3 separate regions of the Homo sapiens genome follow, and all the other regions are linked to region 1. The links are contacts of gene promoters, found by promoter capture Hi-C in human tissues and cell types (Jung and others, 2019). All regions are on one chromosome and are shown on one strand. The core of a region is centred on a gene start or on the middle of the fragment in contact, and the rest is flanking DNA. Distances in the headings are between cores, read along the strand shown.

Region 1 (4,364 bases), core at 1,022-3,521:
AGTATATTCACAAATTTGTGCAACCAACACAACTATCTAACATCCAGAACATGTTCATTACACCAAAACGAAGCCCCATACCTTCCCATTAGTAGTCCCCACACATTTTTCCATGCTATTTTGAGTAAAGAAAAGCAAGTTGCAGGACAGTATTACAGCAGCAAGTGAGGTTTCATTTAAAACTAATATAGATGGGCCAGGCATGGTGGTACATGCCTATAATCCCAGCACTTTGGGAGGCTGAGGCCAAAGGATCTCTTGGGCCCAGGAATTCAAGACCCGCCTGGGCAACATAGTGAGATCTCGTCTCCACAAAATAACTTTGTTTTAAAAGTTAACCTGACATGGTGGTGCGCACCTGTGGTCCTGGCTATGCGGGAGGCTGAGGTGGGAGGATCACTTGAGCCCAGGAGGTTGAGGCTACATTGAGCTATGATTGTGTCACTGCACTCCAGCCTGGGTGACAAAGTGAAACCCTGTCAAAAAAAAAAAAATTAAAAACGTCTGTTCAAAAATTATTTTAAAAATATGTGGAGATGGCTGGGCGCTGTGGCTTACGCCTGTAATCCCAACACTTTGGGAGGCCGAGGAGGGTGGATCACGAGGTCAAGAGATAGAGATCATCCTGGCCAACATGGTGAAACCCCGTCTCTACTGAAAAATACAAAAATTAGCTGAGCATGGTGGCACACGCCTGTAGTCCCAGCTACTCGGGAGGCTGAGGCAGGAGAATTCCTTGAACCTGGGAGGCGGAGGTTGCAGTGAGCTGAGATCATGCCAATGCACTCCAGCCTGGTGACAGAGCAAGACTCCATCTCAAAAAAAAAAAAAAAAAAAAAAAAAATATATATATATATATATATATATATATATATATATGGAGAAAAAGAAAAAGAAAAAAGAGAAAACTCATATATATGTATATATATATATATGGAAAGATATTTTATGGTTTTTTTTTTTGAGAGGGAGTTTTGCTCTTGTTGCCCAGGCTGGAATGCAATGGCTGATCTCAGCTCACTGCAGCCTCCGCCTCCCAGGTTCAAGCGATCCTCCTGCCTCAGCCTCCCAAGTAGCTGGGATTACACACCCGGCTAATTTTTGTATTTTTAGTAGAGACGGGGTTTCACCATGTTGGTCAGGCTGGTCTCGAGCTCCTGACCTCAGGTGATCCACCCGTCTCGGCCTCCCAGTAGTGCTGGGATTACAAGCGTGAGCCACCAGGCCTGGCGAGATAGATTTTTTTTTAAATGTCTCACTCTGTCGCCCAGGCTGGAGTGCAGTGGCATGATCAAGCCTCACTGCAGCCTCACTCTTCCCCGTCCCCTATCCCCATCCCAAGCAATCCTCCTGCCTCAGCCTCCCAGAATGCTGGGACCACTGGCATGAGCCAATACTCTGCCTAGGCAGATACAGATATCTACATTTGTAAATGCATTTTAAATGTCCGGAATGATTTATACCAAACAGTTAATGCTGGTTTTCTAAGAAAACTAGAATTGGGGTGGGAGAGAAAAGAGAAAGGGGTGCATAGCCTTTATGTTAAATACTCCTGTACTGCTTTTGTGGTTTAAAAAGAGAATGGGTTGAATTTCTGACCGTAAATAACTCCTAGTGAACTCAGACAAATAACTTTTTCACAACAGCGTCGACAGATGCCTCCAGCCGGAAGGTAGAGGGTCTCGTTTTAGATCTGCTTTTCACTTGGTGCTTTTAAAATAGAAAGCGCAGACAGAGGCGTGGTGTTTTCGCTCCGAGCTGCAGCAGCGCAGCGCGGCCCGCACAGCCGCAGCCTGAGGCGCCGCTCGGCCCGGGCACCGCTCGGAGGTAGCCGGGGCAGCAGAGGTCCCGGGGTCCGCCTCTCCCAGGGCCGGCCTGGCAAAGGGCGGCGCCTGAGGACCCGGCGGATGCTGGGGGACCCGGGTGGGGAGGGAAAGCGAGCCTGGGCCTCCGGGGCCCGGTGTCGCCCGGAGGAGCGAGCAGGGACGACCCGCTGCACATCTCTGCGTGGCGCCCCGCAGCCACCCTTCAGGAAGGGGGGAATCCCCGGGCCCCCCACTCCGGGAGCGAGAGGATGCTCCGGGGAAGCCGAGGGTCCGGAGCCCGGACCCCTAACCGCGAGAACCCTCTCCTCCAACTCCACAGCCCCGTCCCCTACCTCGGCCCCAGGCTCGGGGGTCAGGAAGAGCGCGAGCTCGCGCGCCCCGCTGCGCATGGGCTCCGGCTGATCAGCGTCCACGAGCAGCATCAGGAGGGCGACGGGGTCCGGCTGGCGGAGGCTGCCTGGGAGCCCGTGGTTGCGCCCGGGCCTCGGAGCCCCGCCCCCGGTCCGCTGCATGCCCCGCGGACCGCCTGGCGGAGGCGGGGCAGGTGCGCTCCCGGCGGTCGCGGCTCGCAGCTCCAGGAGCGCCGGGCCGAGCGGGCAGCGCCACCCAGTGGCGAGCGGCGCGCGCTGCGCCCGCCCCCGCAGCACCTGGGCATCAGTGCTTTGCAAACTCGCTTGCAGATGGCAGTCACCTGGAGCTCTTTTAGAATTTCCCAAGCCTGGACCACACCGTCTCTGGGTTAAGACCTGGGCATCAGGATCTTTTGATGTTTGTTAGGTGGTTCCAACCAGATTGTTGACCCAAAGCTAAATTTGAGAACTATTGGGGCAAGCCACCCCTCCCCATCGGAATCCCGGTAGAGTACAGGCTCCCGGCCCCGGACCCGGCCGTAAAATAGAATCCCCGGGAAGCTTTTAAAAGCCCGGAAGCCAGGCCTCGCACCAGGCCGATTAAGTTGGAATCCTTCGGAGTGGGGCTTGGGCATCGGTAGTTTCTAAAACTCCCCGGGTGATTCTAACGGGCGTCCGGGTTAGAGAGGCGCTAGCTTAGAGGAAGCCCAAAGCCGCCCGCCCCCCACCCGTTCCCATCCTACTAAAGCATCTAGTTTGCATCGGGCGGAGGGTCCTGGAATTTAGGGAAGGCCGAGTGTGACGGTCCTCGTCTTCCTCTTCGGTGCGGATTTTAAAATAAACTTCACCAGGAAACTATTGAGCGCACTACATTTCACAACCGCACCCACTCCCTCCATGCCCTCGGAGGCCGGCCTAGATAGACCCTTTACAAGCCTTGGGGCTGAAGAGAGCGAGGTGCGCCTCATCTCCCACCCCAACAGTGCTAATGAGGAAAGTACTAAAAGGCAAATAGGTATAAGACAAGTCTGAAGTTTTGATTTTTCGTTTGATGACTTATTTTTATTTTTAATTAATTAATTTTTTTTTTTTGGAGACGGAGTCTCGCTCTGTCGCCCAGGCTGGAGTGCAGTGGTGCGATTTCGGCTCACTGTAACTTCCACATTCCGGGTTCAAGCAATTCTCCCCCTCCCTCAGCCTCCCGAGTAGCTGGGATTACAGGCGCCTGTCACCACGCCCGACTAATTCTAATTTTTGTATTTTTTAGTAGAGACGGGGTTTCGCCATGTTGGCCAGGCTGCTCTCGAACTCCTGACCTCAGGTGAGCCACCTGCCTCGGCCTCCCAAAGTGCTAGGATTACAGGCGTGGGCCAGCGCCCCCTGCCTGCTGACTTTTCTTTAAATGTTAAATCGCCTCACAAAAAAAAAAAAAAAAAAAGGCTGAGCTGCTTGGGCAAACATAAGGAGACTCCATCTCTCTAAAAGAAAAAAAAAAATTAAAATTGCAGGATGTGGTGGGGCACAACTGTAGTCCTAGCTACTGGAGAGGCAGATGCAGGAGGATTGTTTGAGGCCAGGAGTTCAAGGCTACCGCGAGTTATGATCGCACCACTGCACTCCAGCCTGTGTGACACAGTGAAACTCTGTCTTTTGTTGTTGTTGTTGTTTTTTAAAAAGGAGGGGCTGGTATCAAGGGTGCAAATAAATATATAGGACGTCCCACACCTTCCTCTCCATTAAATCTGAATTTATATTGTAGTTGGCCACCCTAGGTAGGGGCCTAAACAACACATGTTTGACCTGCCTTTTGTGTAGTCCATCACTGCACAATTCCCACTTCCAAATCTGTCCACTGCTAATTTCTCCCTATCCAAATATCCAGGCCTTCAGGCCAGTCATTTTCTGGAAAATTCTTGGCAAAGACTTGGGCCTCAAGTGCTTAAGGGTTTTATAGGAACTCACTGAGCCCACACTCGGCCATTCGTCATTGTCATGATTTCCCTGATGCTCTGAGCCCTCCTCGCCATCCCCTGGGAGCCGGTCTCAGACCCTTGCCCTTGCCTGCTGGCTAGGCATCTCCCACAAAGAGCCCAGGACTGGCCTCAGATCACCAAATTGACCTGAGCACAGCAAACTTCTCCTGGTGGATAAATCTCAGAAACATAAAGCTAAGGAAGAAAAGTCGTGT
Region 2 (3,893 bases), core at 1,101-3,600, 280 kb after region 1:
CTGTAAAGTTCACCGTAGGCCAAGCACAAATTTATTGTTATATTTAAAGCTTCTGTGAAACAAATCAGTGGTATCAGCTTCTACTGGCTAAGAATGCCAGCCTTTCTTCCAAAGCCACTGCAGCAGGCAATACTAAATTACCTCATTAGGCCATGACTCAAAATGTGGTGGGGGCCTTCTCCCAGAGTGACCTCTACTATTGGTACTAATGTGGGCTAATCTATTTGTTTCCATCATTGCCCCCCTAGAGTGGGAGCCAGGAACATGTTTTGTACATCTTTATACCATCAGGCTAGCAAAGTACTGACCATCAATTCAATCCCAACTCTTGTTAGGTACCTACTCTGTGCCAGGAGCAGAGGACTTCAAGATGAATGAGAAAGATACAACAGGTGGCCTCAGGAAGCTTGGGCTCCATTGGAGATAGACCTGGGATATAAAGTAGCAGCTACAGCTGGGCACAGTGTCTCATACCTATAATCCCAGCACTCTGGGAGGCCAAGGCAGGAGGATCACTTGAGCCCAGGAGTTTGAGACCAGCCTGGGCAATATAGTGAGACCTTGACTTTATAAAAATTTAAAAAAAAAATGTTTGTAAAGACGCAGCTACAATGACAGCAGGGCTTTAGAAGAGATATGTGCCAGCTTGTATGAAAACACACAGGTGACGGAACAAAACTCTGGTGCAAGGAAGCACACATTCGAGCTGGAAGATGCAAGCTAGATTGAACGGGAGAGGCATCCTCAACAAAGTGCTCAGCAATGGTATAGAGGAATGAAGGGCGAGGATGAGTTTGGAGAACGCTGCCCTTTCTTGTCTGGCTAGAATGGAAGCCACATAGGAGGGAAGGACTGGAAGCTGGCTGCCATGCTAAAGAGGAGTTTGGACTTTACAAGTGTTATGAAAGAATCAGAAGTAGTTGCAGAGGAGTGAGAGACTCAGATCTGGTTTTAGAACAATGAATTACTCTAGTGATGATGGGACCATATTAACGGGTAACCGGCTTCACTCATTTCTGCAGTGTGAAACTAGAAACCATTGCAGGCTCATAAGCAACATCTGAGAACCTAGACTACTAGTGTGGTGGAAAGGATGCCATAGTGACCAACCAGTGAAATGTGGCAGAGGGAATCACCAACTACTCCAAAGTCCCCAGCCCTCCTGGATACTCAAAATGTGAACATGGAATGGCTGGTGCCAAACTACATCATCTGGGAACAATGACCCAGCTAGAATTCCAATTTTCCTGAATATGGGCAGCATAAAGTAACATGCCCAGCCGATTTGCCAGTATTAGTTGTTACCAGAAACAAATCAGCATAAACACTGTAGGGAGGAATGCCAAATTGTGCAAAATATATATAGGCTCAGGCAGGCCTCAGAAAAAGTACCTGCTCACGCCTGCAATCCCAACTTCAGGAGGCCAAGGTGGGAGGATCGCTTGAAGCCAGGAGTTCAAGACCAACCTGGGCAACACAGCAAAACCCCATTTCTATTTAAAAGAAAGAAAGAAAGAAAAAGCAGTGCTAGGAACAGAAATTGCCAAAAGGATTCTGTAATCTACAAGATCACAAGACAGTTTTCTTTAACAAAGAGAAAAGGGAAAGAATCACACAACAAAAGGCCGTTATTTCAGTAGCTAAGTCAAAAAACCTCCACAGGAAATTTCTTATTCATTTCCACTGTGAAATTCAGTACACATTCAATTACATTATTCAATACCAGGTATTTTAATAGGTTTTGAGGAGCTATTCAAGATAAAATGCAAAATGGAGGAGAAGTAACGGCAGATAACTTGCAGCTAAGAAACAGCGGCATTACCATTATCCCCCAGCTGACTTTTTAGAACCACTGGTTGGTTTACTTACTTCCAAAAACACCAAAGTATTCCTATAAATATGCCAGTGATGTCAAATAACAATAGCAAAAAGTTCTTTCCTTCACTATTTCTACTTGTGCTCCCAGTTAATCTAATATCAGTCCAGACAATTACAAAGGCATTTACACCATTTCCAAAGTACTGATCAGACACCTAAATTTAGTTCACTCAAACCAGGGCTAAACAAGAACATTTAGATCTAATGGGTCACTCAAGATGACTAGAACTTCCCAGTCTCTCCATGTCATTTCCGTTAGTCTTTTTTTTTTTAAGTGAAGTGAGTCATAGTGTATAGATCTTTCTCCTTTGCATAAAATAGTTTTTTTTCCTCTGAAGAAAATAGTATTTAAATAAACATTATTGGCAAATTTTAATATTCATCTTTTTGGAATATAACAACATAAGCTGTATATCAGTAAGGAATTTTAGTGAACTATTGTTACAACATGGTTTTAACCTAGTCAGGCATTAGATTGTATTTCATAATGAAAACAGCTATAAAAACAAATGTCAATTGGAAGAGTGGCCCATTTTACAAAGCCTGCCTCTAACATGAATAAATCTTGCCTTCATGTCACAAGGTATTATTGCAGTCCCCTTTATCTGAAACAATCAAATCATTCACAATGAAATATAGTGAGTGGTGTCAGAGAATCAAAGAATTTACAGACGAGAAAACAAGCAAAACACCGGACCCAACCCCTCTTAAACTACAGATGGAGGGGAGCACATGAGCTATTCTTTTCATTCACTCAACCCTCTCTCCTCTCATTCTAGCTCAGTAAAATCAATCTCTTTTCCTCATCTGGGCTCATTCTCTCCTCTTAGACAGCTAGGCCCAATCAAGCAACCGGATGATTTGAAAGTGTTTAAATGCTAGAAAACAATGTTTAAAGCCATCTATATACACTATCAAAGCTGACTTTTTATAGACCTAGATGCTTATTAGCATCTATGCTATTCATTAGCATTAAAGATTAAAAATACGGTTATGCTCACTTTATCAAACTGACCTAGCAAAGAATCTCTGCCTAAAAAGTTTGTTTTCCAAGCTGCCACATTCCTCAGCACTCAAAAGTCCTCTTCACTCTTTGTTCTTTTCCCAATAGTTTTCAAGTTTTTACATCTTTTTGTTCTAATCAGAAAATAAGTTAGAATAACTGACCTGCTTACCAAGTTGTAAGCAAAAATTACATTATTCTCTGATCACAATAGGCTAGGCAAGCTCAAAGTATGACTTTGTATAAGGCTGCCCTCATTTCAACATGCTATAAAGTATTAATTTTTTTAAACTTCCATTTTCTATCAATTGTAAACACATTCTTTGAATCCTTGAAAAATAATGGTTTTGGTAAAGCGATACACACCTTGGAAAGTTAGCCACTTTAGACTCAAGGTCATCTGAACTCTGTTTCAGAAAACGCTACAGTTGTATGACAAAGAGCTACTTTTACACTTAGGAGAAAAGCTTCTGATTTCAAGATCTTAGAAAAGAAAAATATCCATACAGTGGAGGTGAGAAAAGCTGGCCCTGACAATTCTCTAAGACCAAAAGAAACTACCTCAGGGAATGTGGCAATCCATTAAGAAGCAGTGAAAATCTCAACACCTTGACTAACTTGTGGGGTTTAATTGTGGCAGAAAAACTTAAGAACAATGAAGGAAATGAATTGAAGACTGACACACTCCATGCTAGTTGCATGCTGAATACAATTTTAACCATGCTTGGGTGACAGGTCAACCCACTCTGGCTTAAAATTGTAAGAAATAAAATTCAACTAAGAACTAAGTTACAATACGTATTTCTTGTTGTCAACTCAGTCAATTTCAGTGGAAAAGACTTCTCTCCACAATGCTTCCACTGTGATGGGGTGTATCATAATCAACTCCAACACTTCAGACCAACAATTTTCATTTAAAGACATTTTAGACTCTACTGCATTAAACTGATGCAGAAAATTTGTCTACACAGTCTCAAAGTCCCTTATGGAATTCATTCAGCTAATTCAGAGA
Region 3 (4,119 bases), core at 1,605-4,104, 370 kb before region 1:
TGGCCTCCCAAAGTGCGGGAATTAAAGGCATGATCGTGCCTGGCCCTCCACATCTTTCTCAAAGGCATATTTTTTCCTTTTGTTCCCTGCACAATATCCCCCCCTTGGCTCCCCATTACCCTGAGCTAAGCCCTTAGCTGAGTCCTGTGCACTAGTGTCCCCCCAGGGCCTGGTTGTAGAAGGTGCTCGGTAAACCTCTGTTGAAAGAACACATAAGAAGATGGTCCCAGCCATCTGCAGCCTTGGTGCTTATTGTGCTGCCTCACGTATCCCGCGGGGGCCATGCAGAGCTTCTTTCTTTCTCCACCATCACCTGGCTCCAGCCCACCCCACCCCACCCCTGTGCCTTCCCCCAACTCATCCTTATCTCAGCCTTCCCTTGTCTTCCACCTGGGGGGTTGGCAGTGAAAAGAATGCCTAACCCCTCTGGCAATGCGGAGTGGTATTGCTCTAAGCATGCTGGTGTTCAGTTCCTCCTCCCGACATTGGGTGAGGTGGGTAATTCCTGGTGCCAGTCCCGTTTTTACAGCTAATAAGGGTGAGGCGAGAATTCTGAGCCAAGCCAGTCTGGCTCCTCGGCCCACATTTGTGCTGGCTCCCTCTTAATCTCCTGCGTGTAGAACTTTCTACCCGGGCTTTGATTGCTCATTTACCTCTCCTGCTCCTCTGCTCCCCGTGTGCTCCACGGGGGGAGGAACCACTCCATCCTCCACACCTGTCGTTAGCATCTGACAATAACAAGAATCATATCAACCAACATTTATTGAGCACTTATTATATTCCAAGGACTTTCTAAATGTTTGATGTGTTTAACACAATTCCCACAACAACCCCGCGAGTCATAAGTACTGCTGGGATCCCCATTTTACAGATGAAGAAACTGAGGCACAGAAAGGCTGGGTTAGCAGCTCCAGCCACACAGCCAGTGGCACAGCTGGGAGTCCAACTCTAGCAACCCAGCGCCAGAGCTACCCTCACAGCCTGCACACCAAGCATTCAAGCACACCAAGCTCGCGGTGTGCTTGAGTAAAGAAACGAGATTTTGTAGTTACTTCACAGGACCTCGAGAACAAACTTGTGAAATAAAGAGAGGGTCATTGTGGAGGTGAAGGAACTGAGGGCCCCCCACCAGCTAGCTGTGGAATCAGAACGCACTCCCATCTCTAAATGCCAGCACAAGCTGCATTCTTTAAAGGATTCTTTAAGCCCCAATACTAATATGGTTTGATCATTAGAAATAATAAACCATCATACCAAGAACTGATGCTCACTGAGAGCATGCAGTCTACCTGCCGGGTGCTGAGGGCTTCACATGCCCTCTTCGATGAGACTTCGAAGCAGATACTGTTATCATCCCCATCTGATCAGCAAGGTTCAAAATGGGGAAGTGACTCTCCCAGGGTCCTGTGGCTTCCTGGTGACAGGGCTGGACTTGGAGTCTCAGCCTGCGTTACTCTAAAGGACAGGCAGGGATGCAGCTTCCTTCTCTGTCCTCAGGAAACAGCCACGTGTCATCAGGAAGCTATGTTTTTTTTTTTACAGACGGATCTCTAATGAAACTTATTTACCTCTCTTCATTCCATATTTTCCAAGATACGGATTTAAAGCAACTGAAATAAACATTTATTCACTGCTTTTTTTTTTTTTTTAATCAACTGATGGTCATTGGGTTCCTACTCTGTGTGAGACACTGCCCTGGATGCTGGGCATACACGGTTAACAGCACCAAGGCATACCTTGTGGGCTAGTGCGGGAGAGCCAAGGAAACAGATAGATAAAATACCGGGTGATGAGGCGTCAATGGTGTACATGGAGGGGGTGAGGGGAGCCCACCGAACACACCCGATCCCCTGAACGGAAGGGAAAACACAGAACCCAAGATGAGCCATGAAGTGTTGGAGTTGGCGTTCACCAGAGAAATGGAGCCAACAGGATGCAGACAGATTTATAAGAGGAGATTCATTATGAGAATTTGCTCACGTGATTCTGAAGGCCAATAAGTCCCGTGATGTGCCCTCTGCAAGCTGGAGATCCAGAAAAGCCAGTGATGTAATTCAGTTCAAGTTCATAGCCTGGGGTGCAATTCCCAGTCTGAGTCTGGAGGCCTGAGAACCAGGAGCACCAGTGTCTGAGAGTGGGAGAAGATGGAGGTCCCACCTCCAATGGAGGAAACAGATTCATGCTTCTTCCACCTTTTTGTTCTACTGGGGCTGTCAGAGGACTGGATGATGCATGCCTACATTGGGCAGGGTGGTCTTCTTTACACAGTCTATGGATTCCAATGCTCAGCTCTTCCAGAAACTCCCTCACAGATACACCTAGAAGTCATGTTTAACCAGCAATCTGGGCTTCCCTTAGCCCAGTCAAGTTGACACATAAATAACCATGACATGAAGAATGAGCAGGAATCACCCAGGAGAAGGGGAAGGGACAGAGGGACAGCATGTGTGAAGGCAAGGAGCGAAGCTTGCGGAAAGCCTGCTGTGAGTACTGAAGTGCCTCTGTGTCCCTGAACCATGGGCTGTGCAGTGGGGATTGGGGAAGCCTGAGAGGTTGGGGTAAGGACTTGACCTTGAGGGTGGCGGGGAGCCATACAGGGCAGGTGTGGAGCCACGGTTCCCACTCCCATCCATCCATGCACTCCTCCTCGTGGGCTGGTCCCTTGGAGTTAGGTGGGGCCATGTAACTACTTCTGGCCAATGGGCTGTGAGCAGAAGGGAGCTGTGTCCCTTCCCGGCTGAAGCATTTAAGAGCCAGTACATAAGCCTGTGGGTCTCCTCCCCTGCCACAGGGACCCTGGAGCCACGTATAGCTATAAGATGGAAGCCCTTGGAGACTGGAGCCACCCATCTGCAGGGAGCTTCCATGGAGAGGCTCTAGATCCACAGTAGCCTCTGTGTGCATGAAAAGTAAACATCCAGGTTCAGCCACAGAGATCCTAAAATTTGTTGACAGCAGTGTTGTCTAGCCTGACTAGATCCGAGGGTGGAGAGCAGGTCAAGTTTGGTGACTCATGCCTGGGGAGATGCTTTGGTTAGACAGGCTTAATGGGTATCAAATATTTAAGTTTGGAGATAGCGTCTGCAAATTAGTTCATTCCCACTGGGATTCAATTCTAGCCTCTGCTCCACAAACTGAAACCTCTGTCTTGTACTTTGTGGGTACATGGTGAGCAAGTGGTCAAACCAAGAGAAGAATCGGGGACCAGACAATCTGTAAGCCAACCTCAGACTCAGCCCCCAGTGGAGAAACATATGGGAGGCCCCTCCTAGGGCTTATGTTCATCCCTGTTCTGCCTTGGTCCACCATCAACCACCTGATCAGCCCATTTCTCCTCTGCCTCTATGCACTAACACTTATCCCAGGCTCTTTACAGCCTGGAGTGGGATGTGTCCCTCCATTCTGGCCGATGAGTTGTATAAGCAGGTCTCTTCAAAGGCTACTAGAAAGTGAATGTTTCAGATCAAAAGGCTTCGGCTTACAAAGAGAGCCTCTCACCTATGCCCTGCCTCCTCCCTAGGATGCAGAAGAGGATCAGAGACACAACACCTGGAGCTGTGGCAACCATCTTAGGGTTGGAGATAACAAATTCAAGGACAGAGGGTCAACCCAGAAAGGAGACTGGGAAAGGGCCTAATTCCCTGATGACATTTTTATGACGTGCGGTATCTTGGTACTTCTGCCCAGACACCTTGTTAAGACAGGAGTGATATTCTTATCCTTTTAGCTGCTGTTACTCAGGGGTTTTGGAGCCAAACAGACCCTAACAAATATGCTTTTCACCTTTAGAAATCAATCAGTCAATCAATAGTGTAAATGGTTATCTCAGCTCAGGAGGATCGGTTCCACCAGAGATTCAGGGGAAAAAGCCAGTTGCCTCTCTAAGCTTGTTGTCATATCCTCCTCTGACATGTCTGGAGTCTGAGAGGCAGAGGAGACTGAGCTGGATGTTTTTGCATCTCCTTAGTTTAGAACATTGGCCACTGTTCCTGTGGGTCACGGGCATTCAAGGTCTGTGTTAAAAGCTTCAATCCCCATGCCACTATCTGGGGCTGATCTGAAGCCAACTGCTCTTACTTTTCTCATCTCCTTCCCCGCGCTCCGGGTACAGCCCACAGC

The links. Contacts are between HindIII fragments. The study calls those that stand out against the background at their distance.
Region 2: a fragment that was not itself captured here is called in contact with the fragment with the promoter of BCAS4 in region 1 in 1 of the 25 tissues and cell types used here (dorsolateral prefrontal cortex).
Region 3: a fragment that was not itself captured here is called in contact with the fragment with the promoter of BCAS4 in region 1 in 2 of the 25 tissues and cell types used here (bladder and thymus).

What each region holds. Positions count from the first base shown.
Region 1 is chr20:50,792,968-50,797,331 of GRCh38, reverse strand. BCAS4 (breast carcinoma amplified sequence 4) reads right to left here and starts at 2,271. Exons shown (of 5, transcript NM_198799.4): 1 at 2,159-2,271. The coding sequence starts at 2,248. RefSeq lists a silencer at 1,719-2,538. The HindIII fragment of the contact is 12,365 bases long and covers 1-4,364 here.
Region 2 is chr20:50,512,151-50,516,043 of GRCh38, reverse strand. All of the region lies in intron 1 of PTPN1 (protein tyrosine phosphatase non-receptor type 1), which reads right to left. Among named protein-coding and RNA genes, the nearest start is that of PTPN1, 3.7 kb to the right of the region's middle. The HindIII fragment of the contact is 4,243 bases long and covers 229-3,893 here.
Region 3 is chr20:51,159,480-51,163,598 of GRCh38, reverse strand. No RefSeq gene overlaps it. Among named protein-coding and RNA genes, the nearest start is that of KCNG1, 140 kb to the right of the region's middle. The HindIII fragment of the contact is 5,297 bases long and covers 206-4,119 here.